2 separate regions of the Homo sapiens genome follow, and region 1 is linked to region 2. Evidence: promoter capture Hi-C in 16 types of primary human blood cells and fetal thymus (Javierre and others, 2016). All regions are on one chromosome and are shown on one strand. Each heading gives the region's core, a stretch centred on a gene start or on the middle of the fragment in contact. The rest is flanking DNA. Distances are from core to core; before and after follow the strand shown. Region 1 overlaps CCDC42 (coiled-coil domain containing 42). Region 2 holds the start of NDEL1 (nudE neurodevelopment protein 1 like 1).

Evidence for each region. The method cuts DNA at HindIII sites, captures the fragments that hold promoters and counts their contacts. A CHiCAGO score of 5 or more calls a contact.
Region 1: a contact is called between a fragment that was not itself captured here and the fragment with the promoter of NDEL1 in region 2, in 12 of 17 cell types (total CD8 T cells, naive B cells, non-activated CD4 T cells and 9 more). The highest score is 11.1, in total CD8 T cells.

The regions. Positions count from the first base shown.
Region 1 is chr17:8,735,363-8,739,733 of GRCh38, reverse strand. It overlaps CCDC42 (coiled-coil domain containing 42), which reads left to right. Exons shown (of 7, transcript NM_144681.3): 5 at 4,123-4,344. Among named protein-coding and RNA genes, the nearest start is that of CCDC42, 7.3 kb to the left of the region's middle. RefSeq lists an enhancer at 402-902. The HindIII fragment of the contact is 3,288 bases long and covers 282-3,569 here.
Region 2 is chr17:8,433,098-8,437,553 of GRCh38, reverse strand. NDEL1 (nudE neurodevelopment protein 1 like 1) reads right to left here and starts at 1,670. Exons shown (of 9, transcript NM_030808.5): 1 at 1,509-1,670. RefSeq lists silencers at 1,117-1,356, 1,397-1,596, 1,697-1,866. The HindIII fragment of the contact is 3,991 bases long and covers 452-4,442 here.

The sequences.
Region 1 (4,371 bases), core at 676-3,175, 300 kb before region 2:
CCGTCTCTACTAAAAATACAAAAACTAGCTGGCCGTGATGGCAAGCACCTGTAATCCCAGCTACTCGGAAGGCTGAGGCAGGAGAATTGCTTGAACCCAGGAGGCGGAGGTTGCAGTGAGCCGAGGTTGCACCATTGCACTCCAGCCTGGGCGACAAGAGCGAAACTCCGTCTCAAAAACAAACAAACCAAAAAAAAATTGTAAGATGTGTCTTGAATTCAGAGTTGGGAAAATATATATCTTAGAATGGAGGAAATTGGCCTGTCTCTCCCTCCTAAGCTTGAGACCCCCATATTTAATTCATCCCATGCACACTCATCTCATCTGCTTCCTGCCACCCCCAGGACAGCCCTGCCGCTGGCGCGACGACCTGTGCTGGTGAAAGGCAGGACCACCCACTCACAGCCCCGCCAGAACTCAGGCCTCCTTGGCTCCTCCCTCCTGCTCAGTGCCACAGCTATCAATCAGCAGATCTGGTCTGTTCTGCCTTGGAAGTATTTCTGGAATCCAGCCCCTGCCCCTTCCTCATCCAGGCCACCAGTGGTACCTCGTCTGGAGTTCAACTCTGGCGTCGTTCCTGGCCAGCCTGTTCAGCATTCCCCCAGCCCCCCTCTCTTTCTCTTTTTTCTTCTTTATTTTGTTCAAAATACTTTAAGAATACTGGAAAGTATAGAGACACACATAACAGCAACCAAGTACTCATCACACAGCTTTGCTAAATCTTCGTATTTTCCCCATCTGCCCCCAGTTCTTTTGTCTTAAATCAAACACTACCGATAATTGAAATCCAGTAAATGAACTCCTTTGTGTCCTTCCAAATCTTATGTTTCTTCACCTGTCCTCAGACATCACGAGTATCCTGCTTTTAAAAATTCTCAAGTCATGCTTTTTATTATTTTGTAACATTTTGTAACATTTAACGTTTTGTAACTTTTTATTTGAGTATTCTGCTTTCAAAAATTCTCAAATAGCCAGGTGCGGTGGCTCACGCTTGTAATCCCAGCACTTTGGGGAGGCCGAGGTGGGCAGATCACGAGGTCAGGAGTTCGAGACCACCCTGGCCAACACGGTGAAACCCTGTCTCTACTAAAAATACAAAAATTAGCTGGGCGTGATGGCGGGTGCCTGTAATCTCAGCTACTCCGGAGGCTGAGGCAGGAGAATTGCTTGAACCCGGGAGGCAGAGGTTGCAGTGAGCCAAGATCATGCCATTGCACTCCAGCCTGGGTGACAGAGCTAGACTCCGTCTCAAAAAAAAAAAAAAAAAAATCTCAAATCATGCTTATTATTTTGTCACATTTAATGTTTTGTAACTTTTTATACGGAATTTTTTAAGCATACACAAAAGTAAAGACAATAGTCTATTGAACACCTGTTGCTCATTACCTGATTCTAATAATGATTAATTCATAGTCACATCCCCCACACTTTCCCACCTCTGCCATTTTGAAGCAAACAATATATTTTCATCCATTTGCGTCTCTCTGCAGTATGTATCTCTAAGAGATGAGAGCTCTTTTTAAAATAACTACACCATTGTCACACCTACTATACAATTGATAGTAATTCCTTAACATCAAATATCAGTATCATTTATTGCACAAAATGGGTCAAGCGTGGTGGCTCATGCCTGTAATCTCAGTGCTTTGGGAGGCTGAGGTGGGAGGATCACTTGAGCCCAGGAGTTCAAGACCAGCCTGGGCAACAAAGTGAGACCCCCCCCAAATCTGCAAAAAATTAAAAAATAAAAATCAGTCAGGAATGGTGGCACACACATGTGGTCCCATCTACTTGGGAGGCTGAGGCAGGAGGACTGCGTGAGCCCAGGAGGTCAGGGCTGCAGTGAGCTGTGTTTATGCCACTGTAGTCCAGCCTGAACAATAGAGTGAGACCCTGTCTTTTAAGACAAATTATTGCACGGATGCTTTTTGTACAGTTGGTTTGTTCCAATGAGAGTCCATATAAGGTCCTCACACTGCCCTTAGTTGGTATGCTTCTTAAGCCAGACACAAAAGAGGTTATATCGTATGATTCCATTGATGTGTTTAAAAACAGGTAAAATTAATCTTTATTGATAGAAGTCAGAATATTGGTTTCCTCACTGGTCGGGGGAAGACACTCACTAGCAACCCTTCCTCATTTATTTGCTAGAATACTACCATAAAGAAAAGGACTTCATAAAGAGATCCTTTCCTTCATCCACCATTTGATTACTATGTGGGTCTCGCAGAGAAAGTTTGTTAAATGCTTTATTTAGTTTTCAGAATAATGAATTTGTTCTCTAGCACTGACCTGTAATGTTTCTAGTATCATTGTGAACTGATGGATTTTTAACATATTTGATATGTTTTAATCCTTTGCACTTATTCTTACTAATGTTCAAATCATCTCATCTTTGGGCAGTGGGTGGCTCTTCGATTTGGCACCTAAATCCTTTTGACATCAGCATTAAGTTTAGAGGTGTGTTCCTAGTAGCTCTGATGTGGTCCATTTATTTGAACTGTGGTACACTGTTGCACTGTGTGCCAGATGAACTTTCAGAAATGCACACGTGAATTGTCTGTTTCTTAAAATCCTTCAATGGATAAAGTCCACACTCCTTCCCAAGGTTTACTGAGCTCGCTTGCTTGCTTGCTTTTCTTTTTTTCTTTTTCTTTCTTTCCTTTTTCTTTTCTTTTTTCTTTCCCTTCCTTCCTCCCTCCCTCTTCTTTTCTTTTTTTCTTTTCCTTCCTTTCTCCCTCCCTCCCTCTCTCTCTTTCTTCTTCTTCTTCTTCCTTCCTCCTTCCCTCTTTCTTTCTTCTTCTGCTTTCTTCTTCCTTTCTTCTTCTTCTCAGTCTCTCCCTCCCCATCTTGAACTCAGGCTACCTTCAGCATCCTGAACATACAACCCCCTATTCCATTCATCTTTGCCCAGGCTGTCTCCTTCACCTGTAGCACTGCCTCACCTCCCTACACCTGCTTTTGCTAGCTATCTTCTATTTATATACCTCTCATCTCATTTCAGCCACACTTTCTCCCATGAAACCTTTTCTGGCTGTTCCTACCTCTTTCCGTGCTGGGTTGGGTGGCCCTTCCCCAAAGAGGCATATTTGGGGAAAGGCCAGCAGGGCAGTTCCCAGGACACGCATCCATCACTGGAGATGTCACGAGATGGAGAAGGTGCTCGGGAAGTTTCCCCTGGGCGGCTGAAAGGCATGCTTTGATAAGCCCCTAGGAAGGCAACTTGGTATCACAGAACTGGTGTTCATGCTGCCTTCTAAAGAGCGTGGGTTTCATGGCTTCTGTTCCACTGAGTGGGACCTGAGGGTTAGGGCCAGAGTGGCATGGTTCTGGACCAGGCTGGGGGAGGTGAGCTGAGTCTGGCAGGCCACCTGCCCCACCAGCACCCTCTCTATCCCTGCTTCTCCCTCAGTAAATGAACAAATACCAGAGATCACCAACGTGAAGGCTTTCCCAGAGTCCCCTCCAGCCCTATCCCCCAGTCATAGATAGGGCTTATCTTGCTGTTGTAACTGACTGTTTACTTGTCTGTCTGTCCTCCCTCCATGCCACCCCCCAAGCTGTAAGCTTCCTAAGAGCAGAATCTGGTTTTCCTAACTCCTGCTATTTCCCTAGCATTTAGCATAGCTCCTGGCTTGTAAGTGGTTCCTGGTACAATCTTGTTGAATAGGAAATTCTTGCCTTGGAAGACATTGCAAAATGCCTTCCATCAGCGATTATCAACCCTGGCTGTGCCTAGAGCCACCAGGGGACCTTTTGCAAAATTCAGATGCCAGAGACCACAGAAGACTTGTTTATTCATCTGAATCTCTGGGGGTGGAGACTGGCAGGTGTCCTTTTTAAAGCCCCTACAGGTGATTCTCACATGCAGTTAAAGTCGAAAATCCCTAGCCCAGTTGTGCATCCCCCTGCCCAACAAATGGACCGTGGCCCGTACAAACCCAGGAGAAGCAGGCAGCGGAACCCCAGTGTCCCTCACAGCCTCTGGCCGTGACCCTGGCCAAGGGCCTGCCTGCCCAGGTGTCCAGGTGTCCAGGCATCCAGGCTGGAGGTTGGCAGGACTGGGTGGCTCCCTCAGGCCCCAGGGGCTGGCTGTGCATTGACCTGAGCCCCTGACCACAGTTCGAGGAGATCCATGAGGTGATTGCACGCTACAAGACGCTGGTGAGCATGCGCCACGACCTCATGCAGTCTGCGCAGGAAGGCCAGGAGAAGATTGAGCGCGCCAAGGCCCGGCTGGCGCGCTACATGGAGGAAAAGGATGATGAGATCCTGCAGCAAAACAATGAGCTGGCAAGGCTGCAGATGCGCTTTGACCGTGCCCGCAGCAATGTCATCTTCTGGGTGAGGGGCCCGGGGCGGGCCGGGGGC
Region 2 (4,456 bases), core at 421-2,920:
TTTTTTACTTTATGGAGTGCTCAGAAACTTACGTCAGAAGTAATTTTAAGCTTTAGTAACCAAATTTATCCCAGCATGGTTTAAAATGAAAACAAAAATAAGTTGTTTTGCAGATGTCATGAAAGCAAGATCTAAGTTTTACTAAGGTTCCTACTTATTTTAAGCTCTTTATCCAACTTCAATTTATTTAATTTAAAAAAATCAAAAGAACTACAGCTTCAGAAGATTTAGCAACTTCTATCTGGATCAAGTCAACCTCTAACCAGGGCTGGCCAAAGGTTTTGTTTCTCACGCACTCTAATTTTAAATAACAATAATTTTAATAATAATTCAGAAGAAATACTTCACTTGGTTTCCCTTTACTTCTCTTCAGCCCATGACTTAACGCTGCACTGTGCCCATCAACTTCACGATTTAGCAAAGCAATTAACCAGCAACTCCTGAACAAGCTTCACAGGAAGATTTTTCTCATGACTGAGCAGCCGTTTTTATCCTAGGTGAGTTTTCTCAAAAATAATTGAGTAAGTAATCTACCAGCTTCTGGCATATCTTTGGCAAGTCACATTTTCTGCCTTGTTTTGTAGCTGAGAAGGGTATAAAAATCCCACGAAAAGAAACCAGAACTCCGAGCCTAGAAATGTAAATTATGATCCAAGCTAAACCACTCACCAGTTGGTTGAACCTAAGTATAAATAATTACCCCCATCCCAGCTCCATTTACCCATCGAAATGGCGATAACATAATCAGTTGCAACCACAAGGTGATGCGGTTAGAAAAAGATAGGAAGAAGAGTGCTCTGAAACGTGTAAAGGTGCTACGTAAATAGAAGGTAATAATCAGTGGTGACAGAACTCTCACCTCCTTTGCAAAACTTAAAGGGTCATCTCATGGCTTACAGCAAGAAAAGAGTCGAGCACAAGTAACCCGAGCCCGTTGGTGACACTTTGCCGAACTCCAGGGGGAGGATGATTAGCAGTTCCGGGCGGGAGTCAGGAGAATGCCAATCCGAGCCCAACGTGGGCTGCTCGCGCTCTCGCCCCCCATGGGAGAGAGGCACTGAGAGATCAAAATGCAACCCCGCTCCAAGCCACCCTCGCAAATGAAGGAATTTCGAAGAGGGGGTAGGAGGAGGCGGGCTGGGCGCGCCGCTGCCACCTCCGACTGGGCCACTCCTTGCGCCGCCAGCGCCCCAGCCCACGGTGCCACGTCCCGGCCTCCGTCACCGCCAGCCCTCACCCTACCCGGAACGGGGCACATCTTCCGGAGGCCACCGGAATCGTTCCCTTGCAGGCGCCCCTGGGGGGCCACACATCGGACCAGGGAAGGGAGGGGACAGTTAGAGCGGTTGGAACAGTTGCCCCCAGGCTGGCCGCCCCGGAACCCGGCCCGGCCCGCCCCGGCGGAGCCTCAGACACGGCCCCGGGCCGGGAAGGCTCCCCAAGGGCAGGCCTCGGCGCCGCCGGCCCAGCGCAGCCCCTTAGGGAGCGGCCCCGCGCTGCAGGCTCACCTCCAATGTGTCAAAAGCGCATGTTCGCCGCCGCTCAACCGACGTCTCCCCTCCGCCGGCCCGGCCAGGCCCGCCCAGCCGCTCGGCTCAGCTCCCCTACGCAGCCCCGAGCTCCACTCAGCGTACCTCCGCGCCCGGCTCCTCCCCGACACGTCAGGGACTGCCTGGGTGTCCGAGGCCATTCTGTGACGCACGGGGGCGGGGCTCGGAGCATGCGCGGCAGCGCACGGGTATGCGGGGCGGGGTGGGGCGGGGCTGGTGTCACAGGGGGCGGGCCAGAGCCCGGCGCGCTGACGCCAAGCTGACGGCGTCCTCTTGCGCAGGCGTCCTCTTGCGCAGGCGCTCCTGGACTCTGCGACCGGCTGGTTTTGGCTTGTGCAGTTCCCTGAAACTGCTATTCGGGAGAGTGGTGCCAAGACGGATGGGAACCTGCCTTCAGTTTTCTGGCCACCAAGGCCCTTCAAGTGTCCATGTGTCTGTGTTCCCGTTTATAAAATGAATCTCGGCTCATAGTTCACCTCCGAGTCCATTCCCCCTGCTCGAACACCCAATGGAACATCAGGAGCATTCTAAGCATCACTCTCACAAAGCTCTGTGTTGTTTTTACAGAACTTCCACTGTTTACATTTTGTATTTGTTCTCATCTTCCTCCAGTAGAATTCTAAGTTCTATGAGAGCTAGAACCTCTTATGCCTTGCTCATCCCAACAGATAACTTGGTTCTAGGCAAAGTGGACGCTCAAATATTTGATGAATGAATGAATGGATTCGTTGGCACAAAGGGGATTTTATATTTGCCCATTTATATATTGTATATATCTGAGCATATATTCATTTTTGTATACATGCGTGTACGTGTGTGTATGGGTGTGACTTTCTCCCCTCCAGGTCCCCCAAGAAATGGAGTCCTATGTGTATATATATACCTCTTACAATCCATCTTGGTTTTTGTTTGTTTGTTTGTTTGTTTGTTTTTGAGACGGAGTTTCGCTCTTGTTGCCCAGGCTGGAGTGCAGTGGCGCGATCTCGGCTCACTGCAACCTCCGCCTCCCAGGTTTAAGCAATTCTCCTGCCTCAGCCTCCCTAGTAGCTGGGATTACAGGCGCCTGCCACCACGCCCGACTAATTTTTGTATTTTTAGTAGAGACGGGGTTTCACCATGTTGGCCAGGCTGGTCTCGAACTCCTGACCTCGTGATCCGCCCGCCTCGGCCTCCCAAAGTGCTGGGATTACAGGCGTGAGACACAGCGCCCGGCCCCATCTTGCATTATTAATGTTTATATATTTTTAGTACGTAAACACACACGTGTATGTGTGTGTGCGCGCGTGTGTATTCCCTAGCGGACTTGGAAGCAAGCTGGAGACGATACTAGCCCAAAAAGGAGGGAAAGAGGGATAGGCAACTTACATAGGGAGTGGAAACTTAAAGGAAGAGATACATTTTAAAAACAATTTTAAGAACTTTTGCTGTATAATGTACAAGGTAATCCTTTCCTTTAGGAGATGGGGTCTACTGTGTTGCCCAGGCTGGTCAAGAACTCCTGACTTCGGCCAGGCGCTGCAGCACTTTGGGAAGCCGAGGCGGGCAAATCACCTGAGGCCAGGACTTCGAGACCAGCCTGGCCAACATGGTGAAACCCTGTCTCTACTAAAAGTACAAAAATTAGCCAGGCATGATGGTGGGCACCTGTAATCCTAGCTACTCCGGAGGCTGAGGCAGGAGAATCGCTCGAACCCGGGAGGCGGAGGTTGCAGTGAGCACCACTGCACTCTAACCTGGGCGACAGAGTGAGACTCCGTCTAAAAACAAACAAAACAAAACAAAAAAGAACTCCTGACTTCAGGCAATCTTCCCACCTCAGCCCCCCACAAAGTCCTGGGATTACAGGCACCAGCCTCCATGCGGCACGCAATGTAATCCTTTCCAATTTCAGTGCTTTTAGGATTGGATTTGTGGGTGTGAACACAAAAATAATGTGTAAGACATGCCTCAAGGTGAAAACAAAGTGAGCCTAGGAGGCCCAGTTTATATTTTTGAGGGCGATGGACATAAACAGGAACAATGCAAGATGGATTGTAAGAGGTACCCAAATCAATAAAGATCAGAGAAGGGATTAATGGGGTTTGTGGGAAAGGTAACATATTACATATGCCTATTATGAATAATATTATGAATAATATGCATATTATGAAAAAACTATGCATGGATTTCCAATTTTTTTTTTGCACAGGGCCAAGCATGGTGGCCCATACCTGTAATCCCAGCACTCTGGGAAGCTGAGGTAGACAGATCACTTGAGCCCAGAAGTTCGAGACCAGCCTGGGCAGCACAGTGAGACACCTGTCTCTAAAAAAATAAAATAAATGTTTGCACCAAAATAAATTTGTTCTAACTTGCTATAACATGTCTGAACAGGATCTAGCTTGAAGCACCAAGAAAGATAAGAAATCAGTTTGAAGAGAGTCCCTATCAGAACACATATTCTACAAAATTGAAGCAATACAAAATACTAAATTTATGGTGAAGCCTGGGTGGAAAAATGGTGGAATCATTGACGCTTTATAAAAGTGTAAAAGGACAAAGCCCCAAAAGAAGTCAGCAGTTTACAAATGGATAATTCATTTTAAGAAGAAACATGATGATGTTGAAGATGAAGCCCACAGCAGCAGACCCTCCACATCAATTTGTGAGGAAAAAAAGTAATCTTGTTCATGTGCTAATTGAAAAGGATCAATGATTAACAGCAGAAACAATAGCCAGCACCACAGATATCTCAACAGATTTGGCCTACACAATCCTTACTGAAAAATTAAAGTTGAGCTAACTTTCCACCCAATGGGTGGCAAAACCATTGTGCCCAGGTCAGCTGCTGACAAGAACAGAGCTTTCAAAATTTCACACATTTTAAACAAGTGGGATCAAGATCCTGAAGCTTTTTTTTTTTTTGA